Linked DNA regions of Homo sapiens: region 1 is linked to region 2. The links are contacts of gene promoters, found by promoter capture Hi-C in human tissues and cell types (Jung and others, 2019). All regions are on one chromosome and are shown on one strand. Each heading gives the region's core, a stretch centred on a gene start or on the middle of the fragment in contact. The rest is flanking DNA. Distances are from core to core; before and after follow the strand shown. Region 1 overlaps ABCC8 (ATP binding cassette subfamily C member 8). Region 2 holds the start of OTOG (otogelin).

Region 1 (5,946 bases), core at 105-2,604, 130 kb before region 2:
CACAGCTGGTTAGGGGGCAGGTTGTAGGCTTGGAGAACTAGGAGGAATTGTCTTTTCAGCTCAGTGCTTGGCCCCAAAAGTACAGGCAGAGGGAGAATCAGATACCCCCAACACTCATTTAAGACCCCGGCAATAAATAAAAAGGGAAGAAGTGGAAACTGAGGTTCAAAGAGTGAGCTAGGATATACAGGGCTCCACAGCCCATTCATCCTGCCCAGACAGGCTTGTCGCTGTCCTGAAAGGTTACCTTTCACCCACAGCATCCTTTCCAATTGATGTCATTGGGTCCCATTGCCAAATCTCTGAGACAGGAAAGGTAGGGTTTTACTCATTGTCCAGACAGTGAGTCTGTCTCAGAGAGGTGAAGTAACCTGCTCAAGGTCACAGAGCTAGCAAGTGGCAGCATCAGGACTACAGCCAGGGGCCATCTGGTTCCCATGGCTGGACAGTCACTTCCTCAGAGCATCCCTTCTCCTGTCTGTCAGCTGTCTCACCACACCTGCCTCCTCCAGGAAACCCAGGGGCACTTGAGCCCCTGACTTCAGCTCCCCAAAGGCTCCAGGAATTGTACAGGCAGATGCGACCAGGGCCGTCCTGAGAGAAGCCTTTTTCTCTCTTCCTGGGGAATCAGGGCTCTTGGCAGGCAGCATCCACACCAACCACCACAGGCAACAGCATTGCAGCAGGGAGCTCCAGTGAGACTGCATGTGCAGCTCCTCACAGGGAAGTGGGAGCCTCTTCCCCACGCTGATCCTTTCCTCAGGGCCCTGGTTCCTGCTGACCCCCCGGGGGCATTTAAAGTCACTCTACTGTGGATATTAATGGCTCTATTCTTTATTTCCAGGGAAAGAATTTCACCCGAGTGTATCTGCTAATCTTGACTTTTTACCAAAACATTTTCCTCTTAAGGATTAAAGAGAGAGTTTGCAAATCCCAAGGTTGTCACAGTTCCTTGAAGCAGAGAGCCAGGGAGGGGCAAGTGATTCTTCCTAAAGTGAATGCTTGGGAACCACACAGTTCTCTCTGAGACCAGGAGCCAGGCTGCTGACGTGAGGGACAAGCTCGGGGCTGCATCTGCAGGACTTCAGCAGATGGACCCTTTGTGCCCACCCTGCAGCTCTGTCTGCACACCTCTGTCCATCCTGGGTGGGTGAGCTCCCCAAGGGCAGGTGCTAGGCCTTTTCCTTTGTAGCCTACACAGAACAGTGCACAAAATACACATCTGCATGGGGCACCTGGGGTACAACATGGAATAATCCCTCAAGGAGCTCAGAGTCATGGAGGAGACAGACGCATTAGCAAATAATTATAATACCATGTGAGGTATGCACTAACGGTATTTGCTCATTCCAAATATTGATGGAGAAGAGGGGTAGTGAAATACTGGGTTAGGAAACAGCTCGGACAAAGGCATGTGGAAAGGAGAGAGATGTCAAGATGCATTATAATGGCAGCCTCTTGAAGGTCTTAAGTTGTTCCTGGTTCATTCATTTAGCAAGTGAATTCGTTTAGCAAAAAGCACTACGGATACAGTGAGACAAACAAAATATGGTCCCTGTCCCCAGGGAGCTCACAAGAATCTTTCCCAGGAGACAGACTGGAGGACATTTAAAGAGGAACAGGTGAATTTTGTTCCTGGCAAAGAAGTACACTATTGAATAATAATATTTATAGGATATTTACTACATGCTAGGTTAATCCTCACATCAATCTCATGGGTAATAAGGGAAACTGGTAGAGAAAGCTTATGAAATTTTCCAAAGCACAGAGACCAAATGTGAACCCAGGCAGCTTGGCTGCAGAGCCTGTGTGTGCAGCCATACTGCTCACGTGGTCACTGGAGGAATAAACGAATAGTTGCACCAACAAAGCACCCATCTCCCCAGAGCATTCTCCATTCTACACCTCCTAATCCCCCAACTTCCTGCCTTGTGCCTCCTGGAACTCCTTCTGGCTGCCTGGTCACCAGGTCTTGGCCTGGGTATGGCTGAAAAGCATCTGAGCAGCAGCCTGGCATCACCCTCTCCTCTGGCTGCAGGCGTGCAGACTTGGGAATGCTTGCCAGGTCAGAGGCTGTTTTGCTTTTAGCTCACTTTGCAAGCACGTCTTCTCCCTGCAGACCTGGGGCTCAATGTCTGAGGTGTGGAGTTCCTGCCAGTAATGGAGGGGGACTCTCAACACACAGCCCCCACACTTAACTCAATGCCCAGGATAGGTGGGCCAGCCAGAGCAGTGCACATGTCTAGATTTTGAGAGACAAACAGCAGATGAAGCTAATTGAGTCGTATCTGCCTAGACTCCTTCTCCTAGCCACTATAAGGAGCTGCAGACTGACCTTCCTTCCTGGAGTCTGTCTGTCTTTTCTTTTTCTCTCTCCCCAGTCCATCATCCTTTGTCATAAGCATGATCCTTCTGCAGCATTTGGGCTAAAACTTACTTCCTAGAGGTAAGCACTGTATCCATAGTGCTTTTGCTAAATGAATTCATTTGCGAAATGAGTGAACCAAAAACAACTTAAGATCTTCAAGAGGCTGCCATTAGAATGCATCTTGACATCTCTCATTTCCCCATGCATTTGCCCAAGCTGTTTCCTAACCCAGTACCTACCTCTCTTCTTGATCAATACTTGGAATGAGTGAATATTAATGCACACCTCACACTGTGTTATGATTATTTGCTAATACCTCCCTTCCTACAGTCTGTCTGTCTTTTTCTCTGTTTCCCCAATCCATCATCCTTTATCACAAGCATGGTTCTTTTGCAACCTTTGGGTTAAATCTTACTTCTCAGACCTACTACATGGGATCTAAGCCAAGTTCACTTCTTCAGTCCCATCTTTCATAATGCACCCCATGCATCCAGTGTTCCAGGTGCACAGAACTATGTTCTTTAATATCAGCAAGGCTTTGCCCACACCATCACCCCTGCCTGGACCACCTCCCTTTCCCATCCCTGCCTTTTCTACTTGATGAAACCACACTCATCCTTCAAGGCTCAAATACCACATCCGCAGTGAGCCTCCTCTCCTTGACTGCAGAGTCAATTGTGGTTCCTCTGAGCTCTTCTAAGGCCCAGGTCTTCTCTCCCCTCTCTTAAAAGCGGGGCCGGCCAGGGGTGGTGGCTCATGCCTGTAATCCCAGCACTTTGGGAGGCTGAGGCGGGCGGATCATGAGGTCAGGAGTTCGAGATTACCCTGGCCAACATAGTGAAACCCCGTCTCTACTAAAAATACAAAAAATTAGCCGGCATGGTGGTGTACACCTGTAGTCCCAGCTACTTGGGAGGCTGAAGCAGGAGAATCGCTTGAACCTAGGAGGCAGAGCTTGTGAGGAGCTGAGATCGCACCACTGCACTCCAGCCTGGGCAACAGGGCGAGACTCCGTCTCAAAAAAAAAAAAAAAAAAAAAAAGCAGGGGCCACGTCTTAGTCACCTTTGCACTCCTGTTGCTGTCACAGGGTCTAGTATACACTAGGCGCTCAACTGGGTGAGTGAATACGTCACTGTGGACGCTGGAGAATGAGTTGACTTGGGAACAAATTCTCATGATTTCCCAGGGTTGGCTGCAAGCTAACAAATGCACTTCACTATGCTTGAAAGGGAAGCTGGACCAGGACCGGGCGAGAGAGCAAAGAGGATCCTGGAGAAATGAGACCCCTTCACTACCGCCCCTCTGCGAGCCTCGAACAGAGCTGGGAGCTGGGGCCTAGGCTACCTGTAAAGGAGAGTAAGTGTTGATAAGGACAGAGCTGTGAGGACCCACGTGGCAGTTCTGGGAGGAGGCAGGTGTGTGTGAGTCATGGCCACAGCGGCTGCTGGCCTTTGGACTGTCAGGCTAGCTATGCCTTCTTCATGAGGCTCTTGTGCCCCTTCTCTTTGAGCACATGGTGGCAAACCAATGCACTTGAGCACCTAGGTGCAAATCCCACTTCTGCCATTTAACAGCTGGGTGGCCTTGGACAACTTGCTTCACCTCAGTTTCCTAATCTGATAAATGAGGATATAATAATATCTACTGCACAGAGTTCGGTGCAGACTGACTGAGATGATGAGGTGCCTGCACAGTGCCTGGCCTATAATAAGTGCTTAGGCAGGAACAGAAAACCAACCACCACATGTGCTCACTATAAGTGGGAGTTGAACAATGAGAACACGTGGACACAGGGAGGGGAACATCACATACCGAGCCTGTCGGGGGGTGGGAGGCAAGAGGAGGGAGAGCATTAGGACAAATACCTAATACATGTGGGGCTTAAAAAGATGACAGGTTGATAGGTGCAGCAAAGCACCATGGCACATGTATAGCTATGTAACAAACCTGCACACTCTGCACATGTATCTCAGAACCTAAAATAAAATAAAAAATAATAAAAAAAAGAAGTGCTTAGGGTCCTCTGCCTTGGAGAGGCTCCTTGTGTTCCCTGGGCTGGGGCAGAGGTTTCCTAAGAGAGAGGGGCAGCAGTCAGACCCGGAGGGTTGGCACAGCTTGGAGAAGAGGTGGGGACTGAGGCAGGGCAGAGCAGACCCCTGCCAATCATGCCTGCTTCATCTACATAGGACAAGGAGAGCTCCTGAGGCAGGCACGATGCCACATGAGGGCATGAGGGTGGGGGAGGAGAAGAAAGCAGGGCAAAGGGACCAGGTTCAGAGTGGGTTTTGACATCCATGCTGAGCAGGTCAAGGCAGGGGCAGCTCCAGTGTCTGAGCCCTGCAATCCTTCTGGAAAAGCCCTGCCTTGGAGGAGAGCCCAGATCCAGCCTGACCACTACATGGGGCTTGGACAATAACCCTTAGGACTAGGCCCTGGGGGCCCCAGCAGTGACCAGGTTTGAGGGAAAGAACATGGGCAGAGTCTCTGCTCCACACACTGACTAGTAAGTCACCCAACTTCTCTGAGCCTGAGTTTCTGCTTCTGTGAAATGGGGTAACAACACTCCCCTCCTAAACTTAGTAGGAGGCTTGATGAGATCATGTTGACAATGCACTTAGCAAAGGGCATGGCCCATAGGAGGTACCCAATAAATATTGGTTACTTTCTTCAGCTCACAGTGCACTGGGGACTCTTGTCTTCTTGCTGCAGGCATGCAGTTGGACAGCAGAAAAGGGCTCCTCCCTCCAAAGGCTGGAGAGGCAGTCGGAATAAGGCAATATGATCTCAAACCGAATACCTGGGCCTTCCCAGTCAGGCTATGTTGAAAAATCTCCCAAATAAAATGGCGAATGGAGGCAAAGACCCCTCTGCCCCCAAAGACATCACAGTCCCTGATGGGAGGTGATGGGAAACCCAAGGGGCTCATCTGCTAGCCCACGACCCCACTGAGGAGGGAAATTTGCCATCTTTTGGATACACCATTCAGGGACATCTTGGAAATGCAGGAAACGGGGGTGCATGTTGATATTCAGACATTGGGCCCAAAGTCTTTCTCCCTGCTCAGTTCTGTACTCATGCTTATGAAAAACCTGACACCTTCAATAATTTTCCCCTAGAAATGATTGGTAGGGAAAGCTTGCCCTTCTGCTGATTGGCTGCAACTTTTATTCCTAAATGAATACTCCAAAGCCCAGAGATCCCTTTTTCCCTTGGCTACCAGAGGGCACAGAGCCAGGTTTTATGTTGATGGCTGTAGTTGTCCTCTGCCCAGGTTGCTGAACATCTTTTTACCCTCTTCATTTCTCAGTTCCTATTTTCTTACCTTTTTAAAGGGTTTTATTTTACATGCATCTTTTTTTATTATACTTCAAGTTCTGGGATATACGTGCAGAACGTGCAGGTTTGTTACATAGGTATACACATGCCATGGTGGTTTGCTGCACCCATCAACCCTTCATCTACATTAAGTATTTCTCCTAATGCTATCCCTCCCCTTGCCCCCCACCCCCAGACAGGCCCCAGTGTGTGATGTTCCCCTCCCTGTGTCCATGTGTTCTCATTGTTCAACTCCCACTTA
Region 2 (5,583 bases), core at 466-2,965:
GATGAACCAGGCCTGGAAAGAGATGAAAGGAAAGAGGGGCTAGGAGAGGGGTGATAAAAATGTGTAAATCAGAGGCTAAGTATGGGGCTTGTGCCTGAACTTAACCCAGGGAGGCACCTGAGCCCTTTGTGCCCTGTCAAGGGCAGGGGCAAGGAGATGGACAGCAGCTTACATCAGGTAACCACTTACAATTGTAACTCTGGGGCACCTAAACACCCCTCTGCGTCCCTCTCCCCAATAGCTGAAGTTTTACAAGCACACTATTTTTGTTGCCTAGTTTAAGATGTAAATCCCTCTTGGAGAAGAACCTTAAAATATGATCTGTTTTCTCACCTTAGCATTAACTATTAAGTCAGCGATAAAATGGAAAGACTTGTGGGATTTTTGAATGGTCCAGAAAAGGCCACACAAAATGCATTCCCCTCCGACTTACTTCATTGATTCTCTACATTGGAAAAGAATGTCATATGGCTGTTTATTTTGTATTTAGAATCCTGGCAGAGGTGAATGAATGTCCTTATCCAGGGGAATGCTGTTCACCTGCCACACCAATCCTTATTTTACATTGGCCATTACCCCCACAGACTCCCTCCACCTTAAAATGCCCCCTGCTTTGTTTTGAGAATAGCATTGAGACCTGGTTCTCCTCTCTCATGAATTTTTGTTTCAAGCTTCCTTGGAGACAATCAGTCTTTGCCTGTTCCTTAACCAGCATTCCTTAAGGCTCCATCCTTAGCTCTTTCCTCTTCATCTTCCTATCTGTGCCCCCAGCTTCCTCCTGTGTGAAGATAGCTGTGTTTGCTTTATTTACCACTATATGCCTAGAACAGTGCATGGCATGGAATCAATGCCAAACAAATTTGTTGAGTGAATGAATGAATGAATGAATGAATGAATGCATCTCAAATCTATACCCTTGCCTAGAAGTCTACTGGGGCCAATACCACCACGACCACCACCACCACCATCATCATCATCCTCTGTAAGACCTAGCATCTAGTTGGTGTTCCCTAAGTGATGACGAAGTGAATGATGTACAGATTCCCCAGGTGCTCAGTCCCATGTTTTTGCCATTTTAAAATTCCTCCTGGGCAGACAGTGGACCTCGTTCACACATATAAAGTTGTTTTGTCAAAGTTTGGCCTTGATGGTGGCAATAACATAGGAGTATGAAACACTTTTATTATTCAATCGTCATTTCCTGAGCTCGGGCAGGAGCTGGTGCTGGGCATTCAGAGGACTAAGGCATGATCCATTCCCTAGAGGTGCTCAAAACTGGTCATAGGATACGGATGTGGAGACCCAGGTGGAAGCTGAGGTGGGGCATGGTGAGAACATAGGCTAGGACTCTGCAGGCTCTGTTATTGACCACTGATCCCTGAGTGGCATGTCCCAGGGCCTCAGCATGGCCCTCTGTAAAAGGAGAGGATAGGGCCAGACTCATACCTGCATCTTGCGTCTCTGGTATTGGGCTTCCAGGACCCAGGTAAGGGGAGCTGGAGGTTGCATAGGCTGCCTCTATGCTTCCCTAGACAATTTAGGGCTGAGTAATCTGAATCCAGCCTCCCCTGGGGAGGTGTGGCCACAGGCCAAGAAAAGCAGAGGCTAGGCTATGGACAGGCGCCTAAATTATGGTAATAAGCTGGGTACTCCTGTCACTCTAGTTCGGGGAGGAGCTGAGAGCCTGGGAGGAGGGGCTGAGGGAGCCCTGGGGCATGAGAACAAGAGGGACCTCGGCTGCGGAGTGGAGGTGTGACCCTGCCTTAGCCCGGGGAGGCACCTCGGGAGGCTGGCCCTGCGCTCAAGTCCTCCGGTCCCCTCGTGTCCCTATGGGAGTCCTGGCGTCTGCGCTCTGCTGGCTGCTTTGTGTCTGGCTGCCCTGGGGTGAGCAGGCAGCCGAGTCCCTGCGGGTGCAGCGCCTCGGTGAGAGGGTTGTGGACTCAGGGAGGTCGGGGGCTCGAGGAATGAGAAACGTTAAAGGAATGAGGAATGGGCCCGCGCAGGTTGGAGAGAGGGAGGAAAGAGAGGTTTGAGGGAGAGCAGAGGGACACCCAGGAGGAGCAGTCAGGGGAGGAGGGACCCCGAAGCCAACAGAGGCAGGCCTATGACCGCGGGGGAAAGAGTCCAAAGTTAGGCTGGGTGGAAGAGACCCGAGGTGGGGAACTAGAGAGAGCTGGGGGCCAAAGACTGAGAGTAAACAGGGAGATCCTGGCTGGAGAAGGGTCATCAGGAAGGGAGAGAAAGGATTTGAGAAGGCTGCAGGGAGGGAGAATGGGGGAATGCTCAGTGGCGTGGGAGAGGCTTTCTAGCAGTGGGGGCCAGGTGGTGGGAGGCCCCAGTAAAGACAAGCACAATTTGAGTGGAGAATAATCCCCCTCCCCAGCCGCAGCACCCGTTCTGTGGGGCAGTGCAGAGCCACAGCCAGAGCCAGCCGGGCAACCCAGGTGAGTAGGTGTGAGCTGTGGCGGCCCCACCCACAGCTCCCATCCGTATTTCTGGCATCAGCGACCCCAGGGCTTTAGCACTTAGGGTGGGATAGGCCAGGGGACTGCGGGGAGGCATAACCCATCCTAGCCCCCCATCCATGCCAGACTCGTGTTTCCTCCAGCAGCAGCCACCAGGAGGCGACCCTTGCCATGGGGGACAAGGCTACAGTCGTGGGAGGCCAGGTAAGGGAGGTCTTGGGAGGGGGCTTCATTGAGCAGGAGCTCATGTCTATCTGGATCTGAGGCTGGCAGGGAGCTCTGTAGGTTACAGGAGGGGTCTCTGGAGTTGTTCAGAAAGGAACAAGCAGATTCCTGGTATGTGTCTGAGGTGTGCAAGTTCATAAAACCCTTCTATTCTTTTTAATCTCTTGGGGGTCTATAGTCCACTCTTTTTTTTTTTTTTTTTTTTTTTTTTTTTTTTTTTTTTAGGAGAGGTGGGCACCAGGGCTCTTTCAGGAGAGAGCTGAGCTCTCCCTTCTGGCAGGTAAAAGTAGAAAGATGGACGTTTAGAAGAATGGAGTTCTCTTTTCCCTGACTGGCCTGCGAAGGCCCTCAACCCTGTCAGAGGCTCCTCTCCATACCCTGAGCGGAGCCTCAAGAATGCAGGCAAGACAAAAACTAGGCCACCTGGTGGAAGTTGCAAGGAAGGTTTGGTTGAGAAGCAGAGCCCTGAACTCATCCTTTGAGCCTTTTTTTTTCTTTTTTTGAGTCGGGGTCTTGCTCTGTGACACAGGCTGGAGTGCAGTCGCATAATCATAGTTCACTGCAGCCTCAACTTCCTGGGCTCAAGTGATCCTGGTGCCTCCGTTACCTGAGTAGCTAGGACTATAGGTGTGTGCCACCATGCCTGGTTGAATTTCAATTTTTTTGGTAGAGACAGAGTCTCACTATGTTGCCCAGGCTGGTCTTGAACTCCTGGCCTCAAGTGATCCTTCTGTGTCAGCCTCCCAAAGTGCTGGGATTAGGCATGAGCCACTGAGCCCGGCCTCTATCCTTTGAGTCTTGACCATTCCACTGCCCATCTTCCCACGGTCCTCTGTGTTTGTGGGAGAGGTGGCAGTTTTGTTTTCTCCCTTTGCCAAACTTCTTTGGTCTCTGGATCAGGTGACTCAGGTCTACTTTCTAATCCTGGCCCGCATTTGTCTCCCTCTTTCTATAACTACAGATGAGCTATAAGTTCCACCCACCTGCAGCTAGGTCCCCCAAAGCAGCTGAGCCTCAGCTCAAGTGCCCCTGCCCCAGCCCCAGCGGTCAGCTCTGGGGAGCCCCTTGAGCCAGCAGATTGGGGAGAATCGTTTATGACAGCAATGAGTCCCAACTCCTGCCCTTTGGAAATAGACATGAAGACCCCAAGGTGGAGTGAGGGGGGATGGTGTGGGCGTGCTTCTTCTCTGATGTGGATTTCCTGGATCTTTTACTTCTTCTTTGCCCACACTTCCAGGCCCTAAGATTTAGAATCACAGTCAAATACTGCTTGAGTTGGAAGGTATTGGAGTCATTTTTTTGTAGGTAGGGAAATTGAGGTGGGTGGATGACTTGTGGGGGCCCTGCAATGAGCAGGTGGAGCAAAGTCTACTGGCAGAGCCAGGCCGTGCATACAGGACTTCAGGAATCCCCATGTTTTAGTGGGGGAGATGACCCTTCTCCAAACACTTCATTTCCCTGTGGGTATCCTCCCGTGCTGGTTTCCAGGGTAGGCATCCCGCCTTTTCCTTGGGGAAGGGTCATAAGTGAGTGGACCAGGCAACCTGGGGAGGTTTCTCACGCTGCTCCTCAGAGCAACGAGGAATTAGAATGGCCTCCCTCTAAGGTGACAGGAGTTGGGGGGTGGGGGACTGAGGCTCATGTACCAGGGATACTTCAAGGGCTCCTGTTTGGAATGCCCTCTTCATGAAGTGGGGGTGTGCCCCAGACCAGTAGGCAACCAATCTTCATTTCAATGCTGTCCCGCTTCTACAGAGCTCAACCATTTTCTAGAGAATTGTTGTAGACAGGGGTCCATGGATGGGGGAAAATAAAAACACATTGTTATTTACAGAAACCTCAATCCAACTGAAATTCAGCATCCTTTTCAATTATTATTATAGTCTACAAACCACAAGAGTATTTGCAGTGTTTTTGACTGTCACCAATAGACATGACAGATATTTTCCTACCACTTATAGATGTTGCTGTCTCAAGATATCATTTATGTTCATCACTACTTCAAAATTTTGGCAGTGATAAGGCCCACTGCTAGATCTTTTATTTATTGAGTTATTAAAGAAGCACAAATATTACTAAATTACACATTTTTATAAAATATTTTCATAAAATGATATTGTGATATAAGTGATTTCCTTTGTAACCTTATCCTTTATTTTATGTTTTTAAAAACATTATTCTGAGAAGGTGTCCACATAGGGTCACTAAATTATCTAAGGGGTTCGTGGCATAAAAATGATTAAGAGCGCCTGATTGATTAGCCCCTGAAGACTAATCATTTGGACAAGATTTAAGAAATCCTTTAGAAAATGGCTTTGACTCTTTGCATCACAGGTTGTCTCATCCTCATGACTCATTTATCTCAGAGGCCACATCTGAAGTGGGAGTGAAGAGTGAGGACACGAAGACTGAGTTTAATTACAGCTCTCTGGTGGCTAAAGGATGCGAGTTGTTTCCTGTGACCCTGCCCTCTCCTATTTCCTGTGGTCTCTGAGGGCCCCATGAGATAGATTAGTACCCGGGTGGGAAACCTGACTCCTGGGGCTGGGGCTGGGTCGACTGGGTAAGGATTGCTCGGGAGAACCCAGGAACCAGGGGCCAAAGTAGGTGAGGACACCAAAATCTGGCTAAGATGTCAGGAAGACCATGAAGATGAAAGGTGTGAGCGTAAGGGACAAGGTGGCCAGGCTGTGCCTGCCAGGGCAGGGCCAAGAGCTGGGGTTGGCTCCAGGGACCAAGGGCCTGAATATTTCCTATGTTCAAGTCCTTTGCTGGATGACAATGAGGGAGGCTGACATGTGAGGTAAATACCCACAGTGCAGTTTGTGGCTTGTTGGCCCTATGAACAAGCACATAAGCTCCAAGAGGGCAGGGACTCTGCCCTGTTCACTGC

The links. The method cuts DNA at HindIII sites, captures the fragments that hold promoters and counts their contacts. A contact is called where the count stands out against the background at its distance.
Region 1: a contact is called between a fragment that was not itself captured here and the fragment with the promoter of OTOG in region 2, in 2 of the 25 tissues and cell types used here (IMR-90 fibroblasts and thymus).

What each region holds. Positions count from the first base shown.
Region 1 is chr11:17,419,971-17,425,916 of GRCh38, forward strand. All of the region lies in intron 16 of ABCC8 (ATP binding cassette subfamily C member 8), which reads right to left. Among named protein-coding and RNA genes, the nearest start is that of KCNJ11, 34 kb to the left of the region's middle. The HindIII fragment of the contact is 4,539 bases long and covers 1-3,624 here.
Region 2 is chr11:17,545,544-17,551,126 of GRCh38, forward strand. It overlaps OTOG (otogelin), which reads left to right and starts at 1,716. Exons shown (of 56, transcript NM_001292063.2): 1 at 1,716-1,923; 2 at 2,384-2,444; 3 at 2,609-2,669. The coding sequence starts at 1,830. The HindIII fragment of the contact is 5,491 bases long and covers 1-4,558 here.